Linked DNA regions of Homo sapiens: region 1 is linked to region 2. Evidence: promoter capture Hi-C in 16 types of primary human blood cells and fetal thymus (Javierre and others, 2016). All regions are on one chromosome and are shown on one strand. Each heading gives the region's core, a stretch centred on a gene start or on the middle of the fragment in contact. The rest is flanking DNA. Distances are from core to core; before and after follow the strand shown.

Region 1 (4,482 bases), core at 633-3,132, 130 kb after region 2:
CTCACTTTGTCACCCAGGCTGGAGTGCAGAGGCATGATCTCTGCTCACTGCAACGTCCACCTCCCAGGTTCAAGGGATTCTCCTGCCTCAGCCTCTCAAGTAGCTGAGATTATGGGCGCCCATCACCATGCCCGGCTAATTATTTTTTGTATTTTAGTAGAGATAGGGTTTCACCATGTTGGCCAGGCTGGTCTCAAACTCCTGACCTCAAGTGATCCGCCATCTTGGCCTCCCAAAGTGCTGGGATTGCAGGCATGGGCCACTGTGCCTGGCCGATGAATACATTTTTAACCTCCTCCCTGGTGTGGTGGCTTAAATAATGAAGTTAAAGCTGAGAAACAATAAATGGGACTTTTGACTACTGTGATAGCAAACAGGCATTTCAGAATTGTAGAGGTGAATGAGATTTTAGAATTCATCTAATCCAGCCCATTTACTTTTTTTTTTCTTTTCTTTTCTTTTTTTTCTGAAATGGAGTCTTGCTCTGTCGCTCAGGCTGGAGTGCAGTGGCGAGATCTCAGCTTGCTGCAATCTCTGCCTCCCAGGTTCAAGTGATTCTCCTGCCTCAGCCTCCCAAGTAGCTGGGACTACAGGTGCCGGCCACCATGCCTGGCTAATTTTTTGTATTGTTAGTAGAGACAGGGTTTCACCGTGTTAGCCAGGATGGTCTCGATCTCCTGACCACGTCGTGATTTGCCTGCCTCGGCCTCCCAAAATGCTGGGATTACAGGCATGAGCCACCGCGCCAAGCCCAGCCCATTTACTTCTAAAATGAGGACACCAAGGCTAGTGTGTTAAATGACTTATCTAAGGAGGAACAGGTAGTCAAGGTTAAGCTGAGATAGCTACTCATGTCTGTGACTCCTAGTCCCATGGTCTTTGGACCACGACTCAGAAGCACATTTTGTTATGGTTGTGAGGATGAAGGAAGTAATATTTGACTTTTCTGCAAACATTATGTAAATACAAGGTATTTGTTCCCCTTATGATGTTACAGAACATTAATGAGTGAGATGTTTCCAGACTTATTTCTCATTTTGGTAACTAACCAGTCAGTGCTTATAACAGAAAAACATAAAGTCCGTATTGAAGACACTGAGAAAAAAAGACAAAAATAGTTTTAATCAAAATAGAATTGCTCTACAAAACATAGAATGATTGCTTATTGTTTTGTTTCTTCTCCAATGGAGATATAAATTCACTTGGCCTTGATGGAGGGACAATGATGAGTTGATTGATTCACTTCTACTCTGTCAGAGAGACCAGAAAATTACTAAGGTAACTTGATAAATAGGAAAATTCCAAAATGATCTTCACTGAAGACATTATCCATTTGATCTAAGCTTTTCAGATGCAATCACAATAGTGTCTCCAAGATCCTCTTTCTAAGAGGGAAGCCTGCTTTTCTCATCACATTAGCAAACAGCCAGGCGGATTCGTTGCTTGCCAGTCATGGCTGAATTACAGTCCCGACAACATGGCCTGGGAAAGAACATGCTGGTAGGGGACTGCGGCGGCTATCACCAAGCTCAGAGCAGAAGGGGTGGATGTTGGGGAAAGGGTTCTGCGAGGAGAAAAATTCACTGCAGCAGGAGTGAAGGGAGACACAATTACATATTGAAAGGGGAAAAGCTGTTTGAATTCTACTCTACACCTCAATCACCACCCTCCTACAAGGGATGTCTTTCCCTTGGTCATATTCTCAACAAATGTTTCTCTCCCACAGCCCCCTCCTAATCTGCATGTTCTTCAACAGCTACCTAGGAGTCACTCTCTCTCTGCTCCAAAAATTGGGCGTGGAAAAGGAGCCCAATCAGAAAGAGGAAATGAAGAAAGAGGAAGTGAAGAATAAAACTGCTCAGAGAAAAATAACTTCATAGAATAATATTATCTCCATGAGGACAGGAATCTTTCTTTCATCCATGAATATATCCTAAGCCATTAGAACAGTGCCTGACTGATCAAATAATTCTAATAAATATCTGTTAAATGAATAAGCAAACATCTATGTCCTTAACCCACTAGAATGGTAGGAAATTGTTTCTCCATCATTATTAGCCTCCTTCCCGCTTCTAGGGTTTTACCAAAATTTGATCAACGTGCCCCAGGAAATAATATCTCTAATTTCCAATTGGTTCTGATCATTCTAGCCATCCTTGTTGGCCAAGCCTTCAGTGGTTCTCTGAGACCTCCAGCTGGCACTCAGGGGCTCTCCTGCCTCAAATGAAGCAGAGGAACCTTAGGCAAAGCCAGGAGCCCCAGGCTGGAAGTGTAGCAGGAGGTCGTCCCTTTGAGGCCAGGGAGCAATGCACAGCTCCTCTGGCAAACCAGGGCCATAGCCAGGGCTCCCTTGCCCAGGTTTGGGGCAGGGGCACTCTCTTTAAGCTGGAGAATCCTACCTCTTTCTCTTCTCTAAGCTTATTTCCTTAAACTTCATCCTATCTTAGGCTTTTGACTTTTGGAAACAAAAGTTACAAAGAGTTCCAGGATGACTCTGTATTCCTCCCCGACTTGTACTTTCCCCAAGGCACTGACACACAGAACTTGCTACAAATGGACAGTTAAAATGAAGAGAGGAAAATGAAAGATTTTTTATTTCTTTGTTTTTTTGAGACGGAGTCTCACTCTGTCACCCAGGCTGGAGTGCAATGGCGTGGTCTCAGCTCACTGCAACCTCTGCCTTCCGGGTTCAAGCGACTCTCCCGCCTCAGCCTCCTGAGTAGATGGGACTACAGGCGTGTGCCACCACACCTGGCTAATTTTTGTATTTTTGGAAGAGACGGGTTTTCACTATGTTGGCCAGGCTGGTCTCGAACTCCTGACCTCGTGATCTGCCCACCTCGGCCTCCCAAAGTGCTGGGATTACAGGCGTGAGCCACCGCACCCGGCCTGGAAAATGAAAGATTTTTAAACCCATAAATATCTCAAAACATTATCCAGCCATATGGTATGGGACCAGGTGCATAAAGTTAAGGCAATGCTGAGACCTCCAGGTTATTCCACTGGCTACAACAGCAGCCTAAAAGAAAGAAAGAAAGAAACTTGGGGTATCCTTCTCTAAACTCTAATATAGAAAGGAAATGCATATCTAGTAACATGTTTCTTTGTCTAATTATCCTCCTACAATCAGCATCTTAAAATAAGCTAATCTCTTATAAAAAATTTTTGGATGTTAATATGACCATCAGCTCAAAAAGCATTAAAGCCACTTCAATCAAGGGACACAGACTAGGTTTCAAGACACTTAGCTCACATAAATTTCTATAAATTTTAATAGAACTTAATGGTCTTTCCATTTTTTTGTGTGGGAAGGGTAAGCATTATTGATTTTACATTTTAATACATTTTAGGGGCATGATGAACCTGGACAGTAAAAGCATCCTTCCTTCGCCCTACCTAATGCAGAGGAGCTTCCTGAAAGAAATTAGTTTGGAATGAAAGGGGAGCAACTGCCTTGCAGGTAAGGATGGGCAGAGTGGGAGGATCTTTAGGACTTTAGATGTAGGTTTCAAGAAAAACAGCAACATGAAAGTCATGTGTGAGAAGATGTAATTATGAGGCAGATTGAGTTATAAATTATTATACAAAGACAACAAAGACATGAAATCAATCTTTAGAAATGATTCTTCCCAAGTAATAGGAGATAGGAATGTCATGGAAATACTTCAACTGGAAGAAAAGCCATGGAAATACTTCAACTGGAAGAAAAGCCATGGCCTTTCTGCAATAACCTACAATTTCTTTTTCTTTTCTTTCTTTTTTTTTTTTTTGAGATGTTGTCTCACTCTGTTGCCCAGGCTGGAGTGCAGTGGTGCTATGTCGGCTCACTGCAACCTCCGCCTCCCAGGTTTAAGTGATTCTCCTGCCTCAGCCTCCTGAGTAGCTGGGATTACAGACGCCCGCCACCACGTCTGGCTAATTTTTGTATTTTTGGTTGAGACGGGAGTTTCACCATGTTTGTCAGGCTGGTCTCAAACTCCTGACCTCAGGTGATCTGCCCGCCTCAGCCTCCCAAAGTGCTGGGATTACAAGCGTGAGCCACCATGCCCGGCCGTAACCGGGCATGGTTACGTAGGTTTACAATTATAGGTTTACAATTTCTATTTCTTGTTCCTATCCACTCCCTTTTGCATCTGATGTCACCAATAATCTTCTCCAAGGAAAAAAAAACAGAAAACACAAATAAGAATTATATTTTATAGTGATTATAATGATCAGAATTCCTCAGACTTCTTTCTGCTGTCATTTTGCTGTGATGTTCGAGCAGCTCATATTTCAGCCCTAATCAGATCTCTGCTGTAATCTGAATATATATTTAATACAATGCTAGAGATAGAGAAATTTTCAAAGTTAAGTAGAGATCAGTTAAAATACCATTACTGTTTACTCTGTGTCTTTTGAATTCTATTATATTTATATTTGTTTACATTTTGAAAACCAAGCCATTTAAAACAGGGATCCCTTCAAAGAGAACATTTATGT
Region 2 (4,316 bases), core at 732-3,231:
AATCCAACAACAAGATTTCTATGTGCCCAATTATTGGTACCTACCCAACAGGATAATCAATTCCAACAACACACTTTAAAAAAATTAATTTGAGAGGAAAAAAGTATCTGAGGTTTGGCTCATTAAAATAAATGAGAAAAATTCCTCTCTAGTCTCCTGGTGAGGAATCTAATTGGAGGCAGAGCTGACATTTTAAGTCATGGCTCTTCAGGTACAAAATAACAAGGAATGCCCCAACTGACCCTGTATGGACAGATACTGAAATTGTCTCTCAAAGCAGCAGATTCTGGTCTGCCAGAAGAGGCCATGAAAAGAGAGAGAGAGAGAGAGAGAGAGAAACAGGAATGTTGCTGGACGTTTCTATCATCACTTACCTTCAGTTCACCCCTCTCTTTTCAATTACATCTCAGCATCATGGTTGGATGTTTCCACCTGGCTACATAAGCAAGCTTTACACAAGGTGTAATTTGCCTAAATAGTGGTCCATTCTATTGGGGTGGGAGCAATTGCTTCCAGGACTCACATCCATATGGCTCCCACTTAGCCATGTGGCCTGCTGACAAAGGGTGGCGGAACTGTCACTACTCTGTTGTCCACGCTTTCAGTCCTTTGGTTTCCTCTTCACTCCCTGGACGCTCATGTAAAAAGGGAGGCCATATACCTGTGCATTGTGTGTCTAAGCATTCAGTGTGTGTCTAAAGGCAGAAGGGTGTGGGTAGGAAAACAAAGACGAGGGAAGCTGCGTTCTCCAAACACTTCAGACTTGAGTAAGTGGGGTTTTGCAGCAATTGAGTGATTTGAGGGAAAGTGAACATACAAACCCAAGCAATCAAAGGGAATATTATCTTAATACCAGGGATACATGTTTTTCTTTCTGCCTCTTAAGTCCAAAGAGGCAAATCAGGACAAGTGGCTTTGGTTGTAAACTTTAAGGTCAAGGATCCTTTCTGTTGAGCTTAGCTCTCAAGTTCTCAGTAGTCAACTGCGGTGAAACATAATTAATAGCACGATAAATACAAGTTGTGGAAGATTCGATTGAAAGTTGGAGGCCCTCTCCGTGGATCTCTCTACAAAGAGCCTGTAATAAAGAGGACTTAATCAACGTTAGCAGGGCTATTTAAAAAGCATCGTCTATTAAAATTCATTTCTTCTCTAGAGCCTCTTGTTGGAGTTTCTCTGTGTGGGTGTGTTCGTAAGAGAGGAATGGGTTAGCAAGAGTACTGGGTACAATTTGTGTATCCAAGAGAAAACAGAAGCTCTCAATGAGGAAGAACATATGTTTCTGGGACTGCATCTGTGCAAAAAGTACATAGTCCTGACGTTGTACTAAGAAAAAAAACACTCTCTTTAGAAAGTCTTTTATTTCACACGTTATCTTCTTGGCACATTTCCCTCATATTGCCCTTTCCGCCTGACCAAATAGCCCTTTCTCACCCTCAGGTCCAGGAAAACCAGGAAACGTTTCCAACAGTGCGACAAAGCCTGACTAACCAGACATACTACTCGCTCGGGGATCCCGGAGGCAAGCCTCAGTCCAAGAACAGGAGTGACTCTCGAGGGCTCACCTGCCTGCAGGGCAGCCCCTCCCTGCATCGAGCGGAAATCCATCCTGTCCAGCGCGGGGCGTGGGCAGAGCGGGGCGCGGCCCCGGCAGGCGGTATCCGCTGGGACTCCGACAACGTGCGCGACCCCAGGCGAACCGCGCCCCTCTCCCCACCTCCCCGCGGGCGGGTACAAGTCTCCAGGTGTCCGCGCGCTCAGCGGGTCCGGCCCGCCCCCGCCCCCGCCCCCGGGCCCGACTGCGCGTGCCCGGCCGGAGCCGCGCCCCCTCCTCAGGGAAGGCCGGGCGTCCGGCCCACGAGGCCGAGCTCCCCCCCGGCCCGGGCCTCTCACCGGCGCGGGGGGCGGGCCAGGGGCGGGGCCGGACTCGAGCGGGGCGGGGCTCGCGCCAGCGCCCCCAGCTCCGTGGCGGCTTCGCCCGCGAGTCCAGAGGCAGGCGAGCAGCTCGGTCGCCCCCACCGGCCCCATGGCAGCCCCCGGCGCCCCAGCTGAGTACGGCTACATCCGGACCGTCCTGGGCCAGCAGATCCTGGGACAACTGGACAGCTCCAGCCTGGCGCTGCCCTCCGAGGCCAAGCTGAAGCTGGCGGGGAGCAGCGGCCGCGGCGGCCAGACAGTCAAGAGCCTGCGGATCCAGGAGCAGGTGCAGCAGACCCTCGCCCGGAAGGGCCGCAGCTCCGTGGGCAACGGTGAGTGGAGCCCGCCGCTCCCCGGCGCCGCCCCCTGCCCCACACCCGGTCACCTCCTCCTATCCCGCCCTCACCCCGCGTGCTGGGAGTGCGGGACCCCGTGTTCTGCCCACCTGTTGCTCGCCGTCTTCGGTATGACCGACTTGCTTGTGGAAAGCACTCTTTTCCATAACCTATTACTCAGCTTTGTCATATAGGTACCTATGTATATTAAATATTGTACATATCTATCAATGTTAACTAACTCACTTCAAGATTTCACCCCTTTCTTTTTCTACTCCGCCGGTCCGCGCCCCTCACTGGTGCGGACTTAATTTGAAGGTTCAGGGAGTCTATAAACACCTTGAGATGCTATGCAGAATTTTTGGTGTGTACGATCTTTTTCTGGGAGAAGGAGCCCTTCAATTTTATTAGATTTGTTAAATAATTAATGACCCCCATAAATATCTTGGGGAAAAAAACCGACAGCACTGGCGCTCCTACAACCTATAAATTGGGATTGTGCTGTCTTATGCAAGTACTTCGGGGCGCTCCACCCTGTGTGGGAGGCGAGTGGTGGATCTAGGGAGTGAAGAAAAGTAGTTAGGAGGCTTTGGTCCAGGGAACAAACACGCCGAGGAGGAGGTAGGGGACTTTGGCCCTGCCGGCAACAGCCGTGCCCGCCTAGCTGCGCTTCCTACCCCCACCAGTGCGGGCGTGATGCAAGTCTGATCCCTCCAAAAAATTAAACCCGAAGGTGAAAGGGGTGTAAGCACACACATGCACACTATGTTCATGATTGATAGACGGGGGAGGTGGAAGGGAAAGAAGATGGCAAGCCACTTGTGAAAATTAGAGATCATGATGTATCCTTTTCTCCCCTGCTGAAGTCAGGTGATGGGATCAACTCAGTGACCCTTGTTTTACTTCTTGTTGCTGTGTATGTGAGTTTGCATTATAAAAGCACTATGTTGGCTTATAGCAAAAAGAAGAGGAAAGAAATTGAGCAATTAAGTTGGAATATCTGTTTCCTGCAACGTTCAGTTGTTTCTGTATGAAGTAACTTGGGCATTGGCGAATGTAGGCTAACCCATTCTAGTTTCTATTAGGAAAACAGAAAAATTCTAACAGGCCAGACCAGAGATTTCAAACAGCAGAGTCTGGGAGGCTGTACTGTGTGTGTAAAAGAATCCTAAAGGATGACGTAGTCAATATTAACATACTTGAAAGGTAAAGAGAAGATGTTCAATGATCGTAGTTAATATAACTGAGTGCATACTATGTGCCAAGAATTGGGCGATGTGGTTTGCATTCATTTGAGATATATATATATATATGTATTTAAAAACTTGTGAGTTAGGTATTTTCATCCTCATTTTACAGATGAGGAAACTAAGCAGTTAAGTAACACTGAAGCTCTAATAGATGGTAAGTGGCAGAGCTGGTATTTAAACTCCCAAACCTGAATTTTAAACTTATCAGTTTTATCATTAAGTTTTAAAATGATTAATACAAAGTGGGATTTGTTAGATGCTAAGCCTCTCCGTGGCCCCCTCCCATTTTTCTTTAAATAAAATTGAGGAAGTTCTGAAAGGCTGGGGAGGTCTAGAAAACACAGAACTGCTGCAATACATGGAGGGAAAGACCTTATATTTATTTAGACTTAGGGGTCTGACTAAAGACTGCGGGATGAGTGAGGCCAGTCTTTGAAAAGTGGAGCCATTACACCCATTCATTCTCTGTGCCCATAGGTCCAGTGCTAAACTGAAACCAAATCAGCTTCCCCTGCGTAGGAGACACAGGAGGCATATTAGATATTCTTTCTTATCCTCTGAGAATGGCCAGCTAGGAAGAGAGCAAGCAGATACAACTCTTCCATAAATGGAGGGAATGGAGCCATGAACAGAAGAAAAGGGAATGTTGCTGAGCATCTACTATGTGCCTATTCCAGAATCTTCATTATATTCTTGAAACAATTGCTGAGATAGATATGAGAATCCATCTCACATATGAAGTATGTGTCTGTCAGCAATGGTTGGAAATTTAATCCCAACTCCACACATAATCTGTTCTTTCTACAAAGTAATG

Evidence for each region. The method cuts DNA at HindIII sites, captures the fragments that hold promoters and counts their contacts. A CHiCAGO score of 5 or more calls a contact.
Region 1: a fragment that was not itself captured here is called in contact with the fragment with the promoter of PKP2 in region 2 in 2 of 17 cell types (megakaryocytes and M0 macrophages); the score reaches 5.5 in megakaryocytes.

Annotation. Positions count from the first base shown.
Region 1 is chr12:32,759,235-32,763,716 of GRCh38, reverse strand. No RefSeq gene overlaps it. Among named protein-coding and RNA genes, the nearest start is that of YARS2, 5.6 kb to the right of the region's middle. The HindIII fragment of the contact is 1,074 bases long and covers 1,346-2,419 here.
Region 2 is chr12:32,894,442-32,898,757 of GRCh38, reverse strand. It overlaps PKP2 (plakophilin 2), which reads left to right and starts at 1,981. Exons shown (of 13, transcript NM_001005242.3): 1 at 1,981-2,249. The coding sequence starts at 2,027. RefSeq lists silencers at 1,573-1,672, 1,873-1,982. The HindIII fragment of the contact is 4,432 bases long and covers 452-4,316 here.